Linked DNA regions of Homo sapiens: regions 2 and 3 are each linked to region 1. The links are contacts of gene promoters, found by promoter capture Hi-C in blood cells and fetal thymus (Javierre and others, 2016). All regions are on one chromosome and are shown on one strand. Each heading gives the region's core, a stretch centred on a gene start or on the middle of the fragment in contact. The rest is flanking DNA. Distances are from core to core; before and after follow the strand shown. Region 1 holds the start of SLC30A7 (solute carrier family 30 member 7). Region 2 overlaps FRRS1 (ferric chelate reductase 1). Region 3 has its middle 35 kb from the start of FRRS1.

Region 1 (3,898 bases), core at 697-3,196:
TCTATTACTTCTCCCGCCTTCTCCCAAGTTAAATCATATTGAATAAGGGCGTTTTGGAGAAAAATCCAATTACCATAGAATTATTTATCTTTAAACTATCTAGTTTGCACCCAATTAATTTTTCCTCAGCAGTGCAGTAGAGTAAAATTCAAGGTCTACTGCTAATACAAAAACTTCCTTCCAAAAAAAGAGTAAATGCTACTAATTTTAAATATTTCTACACTTAAATTAAAAGAATGAAATATACGCTAACAAAGGCAAATACAAAATACTCTTCCCAGAACTTACTTCTGAAACCTAGCTGTTTTTACACAGCAGTTTTAATTAACATTTTTCAAAATTGTAGAATAAGTACATATTTTCAAAAATAAAACCACCGAATACTCCATACACACACACAAAGTTCTCAGAACGAGAGCAAAACATGCATATATCCTCACTACAAAAAGAAAAATACTAATACTGGAGCATTTTGCTGTGTCTCCTTACCTCGAGTGCAGTAGATTGCAGTAGGGCCAGCCGATTTATTTCCCTGCAGCTTAGTTATCATAAAACGGAAGGGGCGTCTCGTTTGCTCATTTTTGTTTTTTTTTCTAAACCAAGTAGCGTGCATCTATCCTTCTCCATTAGCTGGATTAACAACCTGGAAAAAGTGCCGCCCGCAAAGTGAGCGCCTGGAGCAAGGGACAGTCCCCGAGTGGCCGCCCCTCCCTTTCGGTGACGCTCCACTTCCTGTCGGCCTAAAAGGCATTCCCAGGAAGCTCGGTTTTGTAGTTTCCAGCCCACCTCCGAAAGCCAATCCTTTCCTCCATTTCTTCTCCAAGGTAACAACTTTTAAACATTCACGTGACGGACCACCTTCCCTCAGCCAAACAACTTCCCTGAAAGGCGCCCGAAGGAGCCTTCCCATCCACCGCGGGTGCCCAGGAAAGGCCTGTGGGGCTCTCCTCCCCGCGCTCCACACGCCCTCGCATCCCACCGAGGGGCCAGCTTCTGCCTGCACGTTGCTGAAACTGGCCTGGAGGTTCTGACAAGAATTAGAGCGGCGGCCGTTGCCCCGGGGATGACCTGGAAGCGAAAGAGACCGGCACGAATTCTAGAGTTTCGGGGTTTCCGCGGGTTGAGATTGTACGGGAAACAATGCATTAACCAAACCTAAAAATCAAACAAACACGTCTGGTAGAACCTACCATTAAAAAGCTTCTTTCCTATACTACGTTTAACAGCCTTTATTTTGAAAGACATTGATTGATGCCAGGCATGGTGGCGCACGCCTGAGGTCTCAGCTACTCCGGAGGCTGAGGAGGATCACTTGCGTCCGGGAGTTCCAGGCTGTAGTGAGCCTCATTGTGCTCCAGCCTAGGTGACAGGGCGAGACCTTGTCTCTTAAAAAAATAAAGAAAGAAAAACATTGATCGCCTCCTGCGTGGCAGTCCAGAAGGGTCAAGCGCTGTTTTCGGGGTGGCGTGGAATGGATTCCTAAGATTTGGGCGCCCATAGAGTTAACGCAGCAAAACGATCACTTGCGTTTCCTGCGGACTGGCGGCAATAGAACACGTGGCTGCCTAGACTCTTAATCACTGATATCTACCACACCAGGATTTAATGCCAGTTGGGAGGAAATGGCGAAAGGGCAGGCGCTGGAGCCCATGCATCCGGGAACACTGGTGGTAGGCGGTCGGGTGGGCGTGAGCGGGCTCTCCATCTCCCAGCCCAGTCTGCAGGTCGCCACCTCAGGATTTTCTTCCTGAGTCCGGGTGGCAGGATTCCATCCCAGGTCAGCCCCTCACACCCCCTGGTAGTTGCCACCTCCTGGCGTCCCTCCAACAGCTCCAGCACCTTTCTCATCCCGCCCCCGCCGCAAGCCACGCCCTCCGCCGCGCAGGCCCCGCCCGCGACCGGCCTCCCTCCTTTCCTGTCCCAGGACGCGTTGCGCGGCCCGGGCCGGAAGTAAGCGAATTCCCGGGTGTGTGTCTGTGTCTGTCTGTGTCTCGCAGCGGCGCGCGGCCCCGGACAAGCGCTGGGGATTCCCGTTTGAGGCGTCACTACTGTCACTGCCATCACCCCACGGAGCCACTTCTAGAGGGGAGTAGACCCGGCCCTTCGCCGGGCAGAGAAGATGTTGCCCCTGTCCATCAAAGACGATGAATACAAACCACCCAAGTTCAATTTGTTCGGCAAGATCTCGGGCTGGTTTAGGTGCGGGGTGCTGTGTTTGCGGGGAGGGGGTGTCCGGCAGAAAGGGAGAAGGCCCAGACCTCAGGATGGCCCGAGGTCCAGTGAGGGAGAGTCAAAAACTCCCCGTCAACCCCTAGCTGTGAAGAAAGGAGCATGTGAACTGGGAGGGTCTTGAAGAGGGTACCCAGCCTCGGGGTCCCGGCACCTCCTTAACTCTCCCGGCTCTTTTCCACGTGTATCATTCCCAGGTCTATACTGTCCGACAAGACTTCCCGGAACCTGTTTTTCTTCCTGTGCCTGAACCTCTCTTTCGCTTTTGTGGAACTACTCTACGGCATCTGGAGCAACTGGTAACCAAAGGGGAAAATGGTTTGGGCGGAAGCTGGGTGTGAGGGAGACGAAGCACTGTTTGCTTAATGCCACGTAGCTCCTCACTAGGAGGTTCAGGTCCTACCTTTGTTACCTACCTCTGCTGCTGAGTTGCTTTCTCATACCCACACCAATCTGGTAGGGCTACAGTTCTTGAGTAAGATCTGGGCCTATCCTGTGCAACCTCTCTTGTCACGCTCCCCTCCAGTTCCATCAGACAAGACTGACAAGCCCCTCCTTATTTTAGCAGATGGGCAGAATCTTTCATTTCTAATTGTAGGCCTTAGGTTTACCCACTTTGTTGGAATTGGGAGAAACTTGTTTGCTGCCTCTCTCGGGGGGGAGTGGCATTTGGATTTCACCCTTAAGATTCTGAGAGAGTATATCTGAGATGTTCTACTTAGTTTGTTATTGGGGCTTGGAATGGGAGGTTTTATAAAGTGATATCGGGAGGAATATGTGTCATTCTCTTCTCTCTTTAATGCCGAAACTGTCTCATGATTTTCCTGTAGTCTTAACTGCGATGTAAAAATCCCATATAGTTTCTAGAAACAACATTTCTTGGGTTTTGGTGGCACCTTTGAGGGTTTTTGTTTTTTTTGAAACATCCTTAGGAGGAGGAAAATCTAGTGTGTAACTCTGTGGCAGTGAAGTTACTATTATTCAGGTATTTGCTGTTGAGTAACTTAAGGTCTTATGAAGTTGTTCTGCTAACAAGACTGTCACACTCCTAGGTGTACTAATTCTGTCTTTAGATCCCATACTCCTTCAAAAATCTGATGAAAGCCAATACTCAGAATTGTACATAAAGCTTCAGGATGTTGTTGGGTTCCCTGTACTAAATCTTGGACTCTAGATTAAGAACCTGTTTTCTATTTATTAAATAGACTTAGTCTCTGTTGTTTAAGACCCATTTTCAGAGAAAATCGCTGTCCTTGATCTTCTGTTGAGATCAAACATTGACAGGTAATATCACCAGGTTTTGTGACATGTATACTTTTATATAATGCTTGGGCTTCTTTCAATTCAACCGTCAATTCAGTTCTATAAAAAATACTCAATAACCAGCAGATTATGAAGGTTATTGGTTTAGTCAACAGTTGGGTATAAAGGCATATTGGCACAATGAAATCTTAATATATGTAATAACCATTTTGAATCCTTTGGGAATCAGATGTGTTAATTTGAAGGATACCCCATCATAGATTAATTTTTTAATCCCATAGTATTAACACACTTTAATATACTGTAGATGTTGAAAGCACTTGTACTTGAATAATCATACTTTATCATAAATATATAATATTTACAGTATATTTTACATTTTTCTCTTCCTAAATTATGCCAAATT
Region 2 (3,898 bases), core at 498-2,997, 1.1 Mb before region 1:
CCAAAACAATAAATTCCTGCTGAAGAAACACTGTATCTAGATGTTGTGCATGACTTTTAAAGATTTACAGAGCCAATCAAGGAATCATAAAAGAGACTGTGAATATGGAAAAAAAAGGTGGGGGACGAAGGGTTTCAAGACATGAATCTTCAAGAAATTCAAGAGCTAATAGACACCACAACAGAAGAATTAACAGAAGACAACTTGATGGTGAGTGTTTCCAAACCAGTGCCAGATGACGATGAGGACTATGGAGAAGAAGCAGTCCCAGCAAACAAACTGACATTAGACAACCTGGCAGAAGGGTTCCAATTATTCAACAATGCTTTTGCCTTCTTCTACGACATGGACCCTCCTATGATATAGCACTGAAACTAAAGCAAAGCGGGGAAGAATTGGTACCATATAGAAACATTTTTAAGAAAACGAAAAAACAAAAAAGTCAGACAGAAATTACAATGTATTTCTATAAAGTTACACCAGTGTGGTGCCTCTCCTGCCTCCCCTTCCACCTCCTCCACCCACCCCAAGACAGCAAGACCAGCCACTCCTCTTCCTTCTCCTCTTCAGCCCATTCAACATGAAGGCAATGAGAATAAAGACCTTTATGATAATCCACTTCTATTTAATGAATAGTAAATATATTTTCTCTTATTTTCTTAATAAGATTTTTCTCTTGTCTAGCTTACTTTATTGTAAGAATACAGTATATAACACATATAAATACAAAATATGTGTTAATCAACTATTTGTTATCAGTAAGGCTTCTGGTCACCAATAGGCTATTTGTAGTTAAGTCTGGGGGGAGTCAAAAGTTATACACAGATTTCCAATTTCCCCAGGGGTGGGGTCTGCACCTGTAACCTCCACATTGTTCAAGGATCAACTCTAAACACAAACCTGTATATCTTCACAGGTCAAAAGTTGTGACACTTCACTGTCAATCAATGTGAAGGAGCCAATAGGAGGGCCATTCAGATCCTCAGCATTACGCGCTTCTAGGAGAAAGCCTTTAAATGGATGCCCTGACAAAGTAACTGAGAAAAAGACAAAAGGGTTGGTTAAAAAGCTTAGTAATATCAAAAAAAAATGTTTAGAGGTTGTACATTACAATTACAATGAGGTCTACATATGCAAAAGTACTCCTGGAGAGAAAACAGTCATCTTATAGGCAAAGAAGCTCTAAACTTTTTCCATAAAATTTTTTCCAGTGTTCCATAAGATATTCAATCTGTGAGATATTAATAGCCATTCCGCAAAGAGAAAAGAAAAATAGGTGATGGTCCAGGGGCAGTCCATAAGGCTAAGTTAGTTTGGAAAATGCTAGATGATACCAATTGGGTACTATGCTTATCACCTGAGTGATGAAATAATCTGTACACCAAACCCTCGTGACATGGAATTTACCTATAAACAAACCTACACATGTACCCCTGAACCCAAAATAAAAGTTTAAAAAAAAAATGTTTACTTGACCTCATTAGAGGAAAAAACATGAGGTGTTTTCTTTTGAATTGCAGTATTTAACACAGTGTCTGGCTCACAGTGACACTCAATAAATTCTTATTGAATTACAAAAAAAGAAAAACACTGGATGAAAGTAAATACTTGTTTCTTTACTGCAAATTTCTTAGGATATTTAATATCCTACTGTACAGTGTGAACTCTAAGGTATATTATATATCACACAGAATATTCCAAACTTATTTTTCTATATACTCTCTATGTAACAGAGTACCTGTTAACATTTTGCATTTCTAGAGTTGCAAAAAATAGTTTGCAAAATGCTGTTATAGATTTATCTTTAATAATCAGCCTACATTTTACCAGAGAAATTAGAGAATTGTTCTTAAAATTATATGATATCAAGAAGGACAAGGGTTTATTATATTTTAAACAAGATAAAATAAACTTCATTTTTCTCTTCTCTTGAAGTGATAGCACAATTAATAAAAATAGTAAATAACGATAAAAACTTATTTTAAAGCCTGTTCTGGATGGGGAATACACAGACTACTTAAGTAATACAGTCATCTGGAACCAAAAATAAGAAGTATGATAGTATCTTACAAAAGAAAACAGATTTAAGTGAAATCTTCTAAATCAAGTAATAATAAAGATTCAATAAACAGTAAAAGAGTGAAATCCAAAATGTAAACAGTTAATCCCAGCACGGTACCTTCAATCTGATCTCCTGGCCTGAATGTCATCTGACTCACGTAAATGTCATGAACAGGAACAGACTGTGGACTATGACCATGTTCAGGAATCATTCCATGGCATGACTGTGTTACTTTTCCATTGGGATAATTAGCCACATAACTAATGTGCAACAGAAGTATGCAGGTACCAAGAGTAAATCCAGAAACTGCCATCTCAAAAAGAAGGGTAAAAGCCCATTATTGTCATATATAATTAAAATATAAAAGCTTTTACACAACTGGACCATAATTCTAGATAACTACTTGCTTTCTGTGTTCAGCAAACCATATTCTCAACATACCTGATAAAAAGAATGTGATATGTGAAGTTTCACCCGAATTTCAATCTCAGCTCTACAAATTACTGTGAGACTTTGGGCAAATCATTTAATCCTCCACTTCCTTACCTGAAAAATAAGGAAACAAAGATCTCTTTTCAATGCTGTTTTTTTTTTCTCGAGACATAGATCTCGCTCTGTTGCCCGAGCTGGAGTGCAGTGGCACAATCTCGGCTCACTGCAACCTCCGCCTCCCGGGTTCAAGTGATTCTCTTGCCTCAGCTTCCCCAGTAGCTGAGAATACAGGCATGCGCCACCACACCTGGCTAATTTTTGTATTTTGGTAGAGACGGAGTTACACCAGGCTGGTCTCGAACTCCTGACCTTAGGTGATCCGCCCACCTTGGCCTCCCAAAGTTCTGGGATTACAGGCATGAGCCACTGTGCCTGGCCCAATGTTGTTTAAATAAAAATGAAAATATAGCTCAAAATCTGACAAGGAAGATAATAAATAATAGCTTTCTTTATTATCAATTGGAAATAATAAACTAGTCAATAAAAGCAAAAGGTTTTACTCCACGTCATCCTAGAAAGCTTAAAGAACAAAGAAGAAATGTTTCTTCTGGATTTAAATATCATCACCTGAATAAATCTATGATAAGACTTTTCCCAACTTCCTATTAAACTGATCATGATGACTGGGTGGATTATTTAATTTGCAATACTGAAAACTGAGGATAACAGAGAACCAATTGGTAGAGATAATAATTCTACTACATGTAGCCCAGATACTTCTGAATTAAGAAACACAATTGTCAGCCCACACAATCTTCTTCCCTCCCACAGCTCCAATCTTCCTCTTAGCATCTGGATAATAGAAAACCAGCTACTTTACCTCAGTCCCACACTCTTGTAGCCCAGATCAACCACTTTGCTTCATGCATATATTCAAAACCTGCAAATCACAGGACTCAACAAGGCTGGAGGTGATGAGCAGTGACATGATACATGGCAGTAAATAAAGTTAACACCATGGACAGGTTGCAGATGGGAAACACCTAAGAGGCAGTTTATTATTTATAGAAAAGGAGTTTTCTATATCATATATCTGGTCATAGACAATAGCAGCCTTAGAATCACTAGAAAAAATTATTGTTTTTTAGTTATGTCAATCAGGAGCAACTATTTAACCGCAGCCTAACCTGCTGGGGTTTTATCAGAGCCTACATGACCTGGAGGATGGGAAATACCCAATTCCTGCCCACATTAGCCATCCTGTTTCACTTAAGTGGGGGAAGAACCTTGAAGCGGTTGTGAAGTTCACACTCCAGGGGCATAAGCTCACTAAAATACTGAGGTCTACTCACAGGACTACAGAACAGTTCTCCTCCTCCCTCTCCTTACCACCACATTATTAAA
Region 3 (3,898 bases), core at 816-3,315, 1.1 Mb before region 1:
CATTCTCCAACCAGTTTTGTTCTCTTGTTGGTGAGAAGTTGTGTTCCTTTGGAGGAGAAGAGGTGTTCTAGTTTTTGGAATTTTCAGCCTTTCTGCTCTGGTTTCTCCCCTCTTTGTGGTTTTATCTACCTTTGGTCTTTGATGTTGGTGACCTATGGATGAGGTTTTGGTGTAGATGTCCTTTTTGTTGATGTTGATGCTATTCTTTTCTGTTTGTTGGTTTTTCTTCTAACAGAGAAGCCTCTCAGTTGCAGGTCTGTTGGAGTTTGCTGGAGGTCCACTCCAGACCTTGTTTGCCTGGGTATCACCAGCAGAGGCTGCAGAATAGCAAATATTGCTGCCTGATCCTTCCTCTGGAAGCTTCATCCCAGAGGGGCACCCACCTGTATGAGGTGTCTGTCAGCCCCTACTGGGAGGTGTCTCCCAGTCAGGCTACACAGGGGTCAGGGACCCACTTGAGGAGGCAGTCTGTCTGTTATTGCAGCTCGAATGCCGTGCTGGGAGAACAACTGCTCTCTTCAGAATGGTCAGGCAGGGATGTTTAAGTATGGAGAAGCTGTCTGCTGCCTTTTGTTCAGATATGCCCTGCCCTCATAGGTGGAATCTAGAGAGGCAGTAGGCCTTGCTGAGCTCCAGTGGGCTCCACCCAGTTCGAGCTTCCCTGCCACTTTGTTTACACTGTGAACATAGAACCACCTACTCAAGCCTCAGCAATGGTGGACACCCCTCCCCCCACCAAGCTCCGGCATCCCAGGTTGATCTCAGACTGCTGCGCTAGCAGCAAGCAAGGCTCTGTGAGCATAGGACCTGCTGAGCCAGGCACAGGAGGGGATCTCCTGGTCTGCAGGTTGTGAAGACCATGGGAAAAGTGCAGTATTTGGGCAGAAGTGTACCACTCCTCCAGGTACAGTCACTCACGGCTTCCCTTGGCTAGGAATGGGAAATCCCCCAACCCCTTGCATTTCCCCGGTGAGGCAATGCCCCACCCTGCTTCAGCTTGCCTTCCATGGGCTGCACCCACTGTCCAACCAGTCCCAATGAGATGAATCAGGTACCACAGTTGGAAATGCAGAAATCACCCATCTGCTTTGTCAATCTTGCTGGGAGCTATAGACCAGAGCTGTTCCTATTTGGCCATCTTGGAAGTGACCAGTGCCCCTAAAGTCTTAACGCATTCCAGTTTCAACTCTAAAGTCTAACATTTAAAGTCTAATATTTTTTCTTAACTTAATAAGGTTTTCTTTAACTTTTGTTTTAAGTTCAGAGGTACATGTGCAGGTTTGTTATTAAAGTCTCTCTAAAAATCATCTAAACTGGATATTGCCGAGACTTGAGATGTAATTCATTATGAGGCAAAATTTTTCTCCAGCTGTGAACCTTTGAAACCAAATATGTTATCTGATTCCAAAATACAATAGTGGGACAGACATAGAATAAACATTCCCATTCCAAAAGAAGAAGCAGGAAAGAAGGAAAGGTAGTTGGTTTCAAGCCAGTTCAAAACCCAACAAGGTATTCCATGAGATCTTAAGCCCGGAGAATAATCCTCTTCAACACTCTGCCTTCTAGGCCTGGTGGTGTTGGGGTGAGGGGGTCATCCCCCTAAGGCTGTACATGGTGGTCTTGGCCCCACAGCTCTGCAGAGAGGTCCTGGCTCCCAAGCTTTGGTCAGAGGCCACCTGGCCTTTTAAAACTGAATGGTGACCGTGATAATCTCTGAATTGCCTTCAGGGCAATTTTTCTCTGTCTTTGAACAGTGCACGTTTATACCCAGATAGCTCTATCGTCTTGTCTTTCAAAATCTAAGAAGTCAAATATCCTTTCTTCATTTTGTCCAACCTCCATCCCTCAGTTCAAGCTGACAGTGCTTCTGCTCCTATAATATCATAAACTCTTTATTGAGTGAAAGTCCAGCCACACCCTTGGTGTTCCTTTCAGAATATGTTTTTGCATTTTTTGCAATATCAATAGGCTGAATTTTCCAAATATTTAAGATCTAGTTCCTTGTTGCTTAACAATCCTTTCTTCAGTTCATCTCTGTCCTCTCACATATTACTATAAACAGTCAGGAGGAACTAAGATACTCCTTCAACACTTTGCTTAGAAATATTCTCAGGGAAATTTCCAGTTTCATTGCTTACCAGTTCTACTTTCCAAAAAAACACTAGAACACAAACACAATTCAGTCAGGTTATTTCCCTCTTTATAACAAGGATTGCCTCTCCTTCAGGTTCCTACATGATCTTTGTTACCATCTGAGACTTCACAAGAATCACCCTTAATATCTATATTTATAGTATGCACCTTAAAACTCTTCCAGCCTCTACCCATTACCCATTTCCAAAGCAACTTCCACATGTTTAAGCATTTGTTACAGCAGCACCTCACTTCTCAGTATCAAAATCTGTATTAGTCTGGGTTATCCATAGAAACAGAACTGCTAAGAGATATAAATAGATAGATATAAAGAAGCTTATAAGAAATTGGGCCAGGTGAAGTGGCTCACACCTGTAATCCCAGCACTTTGAGAGGTCGAGGTGGGCGGATCACTTGAGGTCAGGAGTTCAAGACCAGCCTGGTCAACATGGTGAAACCCCATCTCTACTAAAAATACAAAAGTTAGCTGTGGCATTCATCTCTGGTCCCAGCTACTCAGGAGGCTGAGGCAGGAGAATCACTTGAACCTGGGAGGCAGAGGTTGCAGTGAGCCAAGATCATGCCACTGCACTCCAGCCTAGGCAACAGAGTAAGACTCAAAAAAAAAAAAAGAAATTGGGTCATGTGATTATGAAGACAGATATCCCAAGATCTATAGTCAGCACAAAGGACAGCCAATGGTATGAGTACCAGTCTGAGTATCAGTCCAAAGTCTGACATCCTAGCTTGACAATCATTAGGCAGGGAGAGAATCCTGCCTTACTCACCCCTGTGTTCCTTTCAGGCCTTCAGTGGATTTCCATGAGACCCACCCACATTGGGCAGGATAATCTGCTTTACTCAGTCTACCAATTCCAATGTTAATCTTGGCCAGGTGCGGTGGCTCCTGCCTGTAATCCCAGCACTTCGGGATCGAGGTGTGTAGAGGCCAGGAGTTCAAGACCAGCCTGGGCAACATGGCAAAACCTTGTCTCTACTAAAAAAATACAAAAAAATTAGCTGGGCGTCATGGCACATGCCTGGAGTCCCAGCAGCTAGGGAGGATGAGGTGGGAGGATCACCTGAGCCCTGGAAGGCGAGGCTGTAGTGAGCTGAGATCATGTGCCACTGCAGTCTAGTCTGAGCAATGAGAGTGAGACCCTTTTGCCAAAACAACAACAACAACAACAACAACAACAACCACTGTGGCTCCTATGGTCCATTCAAGTTGACACATAAAATTAACCATCACATCCCCTGATTCCAATTCTTCTTTTCCTATACTCAGTTAAATCCACCCAAATATATGTCTATCCTCACTACTTCATGGAAACTACTTTAGTTGAAGGATTCTTGAACTTTGATCTAGAACTTTGATCTAACAATGCCCTCTGCTTCGTTAAATTAAAATTGCTTATCTTACTTGACAAATTAGGAGGATTTGACATCATCAATTGTCTCCTCCTCCTTGACATATTTCGTTTGACTCTCAGGACACCACACTTTCAGTGTGAACCTGAAACCACGCTGGTTCATCTTTCTTGTCCTTTGCTGGCTCTTCAATTTTTCCATGACCTCTTAATATTAGGATAGATTTAGTTCTTGAATATCTCCTCTTCTTATATGTTTTCTGTTGAAAATTATATTCAATCTCATGACTGTAAACAAATCTGTATGTCCACAACTCTTAAAGATATCTTTAGCCCCAATTCCTCTGCTCAGCTCTCTACTCATTTATTCTATTGCCTCTAATAGACCTCTC

What was found. Contacts are between HindIII fragments. The CHiCAGO score rates a contact against its expected background, and 5 or more counts as called.
Region 2: a contact is called between a fragment that was not itself captured here and the fragment with the promoter of SLC30A7 in region 1, in 2 of 17 cell types (M2 macrophages and M0 macrophages). The highest score is 6.2, in M2 macrophages.
Region 3: a fragment that was not itself captured here is called in contact with the fragment with the promoter of SLC30A7 in region 1 in 6 of 17 cell types (naive B cells, naive CD4 T cells, naive CD8 T cells and 3 more); the score reaches 8.9 in naive B cells.

Annotation. Positions count from the first base shown.
Region 1 is chr1:100,894,144-100,898,041 of GRCh38, forward strand. SLC30A7 (solute carrier family 30 member 7) reads left to right here and starts at 1,947. Exons shown (of 11, transcript NM_133496.5): 1 at 1,947-2,199; 2 at 2,427-2,528. The coding sequence starts at 2,120. EXTL2 (exostosin like glycosyltransferase 2) reads right to left here and starts at 699. Exons shown (of 5, transcript NM_001033025.3): 1 at 490-699. RefSeq lists enhancers at 31-754, 755-1,477, 1,372-1,441, 1,992-2,241, 2,292-2,451. The HindIII fragment of the contact is 2,158 bases long and covers 1,199-3,356 here.
Region 2 is chr1:99,746,394-99,750,291 of GRCh38, forward strand. It overlaps FRRS1 (ferric chelate reductase 1), which reads right to left. Exons shown (of 17, transcript NM_001361041.2): 2 at 2,504-2,608; 3 at 2,180-2,375; 4 at 901-1,037. The coding sequence starts at 2,375. Among named protein-coding and RNA genes, the nearest start is that of FRRS1, 18 kb to the right of the region's middle. The HindIII fragment of the contact is 1,360 bases long and covers 1,068-2,427 here.
Region 3 is chr1:99,799,901-99,803,798 of GRCh38, forward strand. No RefSeq gene overlaps it. Among named protein-coding and RNA genes, the nearest start is that of FRRS1, 35 kb to the left of the region's middle. The HindIII fragment of the contact is 810 bases long and covers 1,661-2,470 here.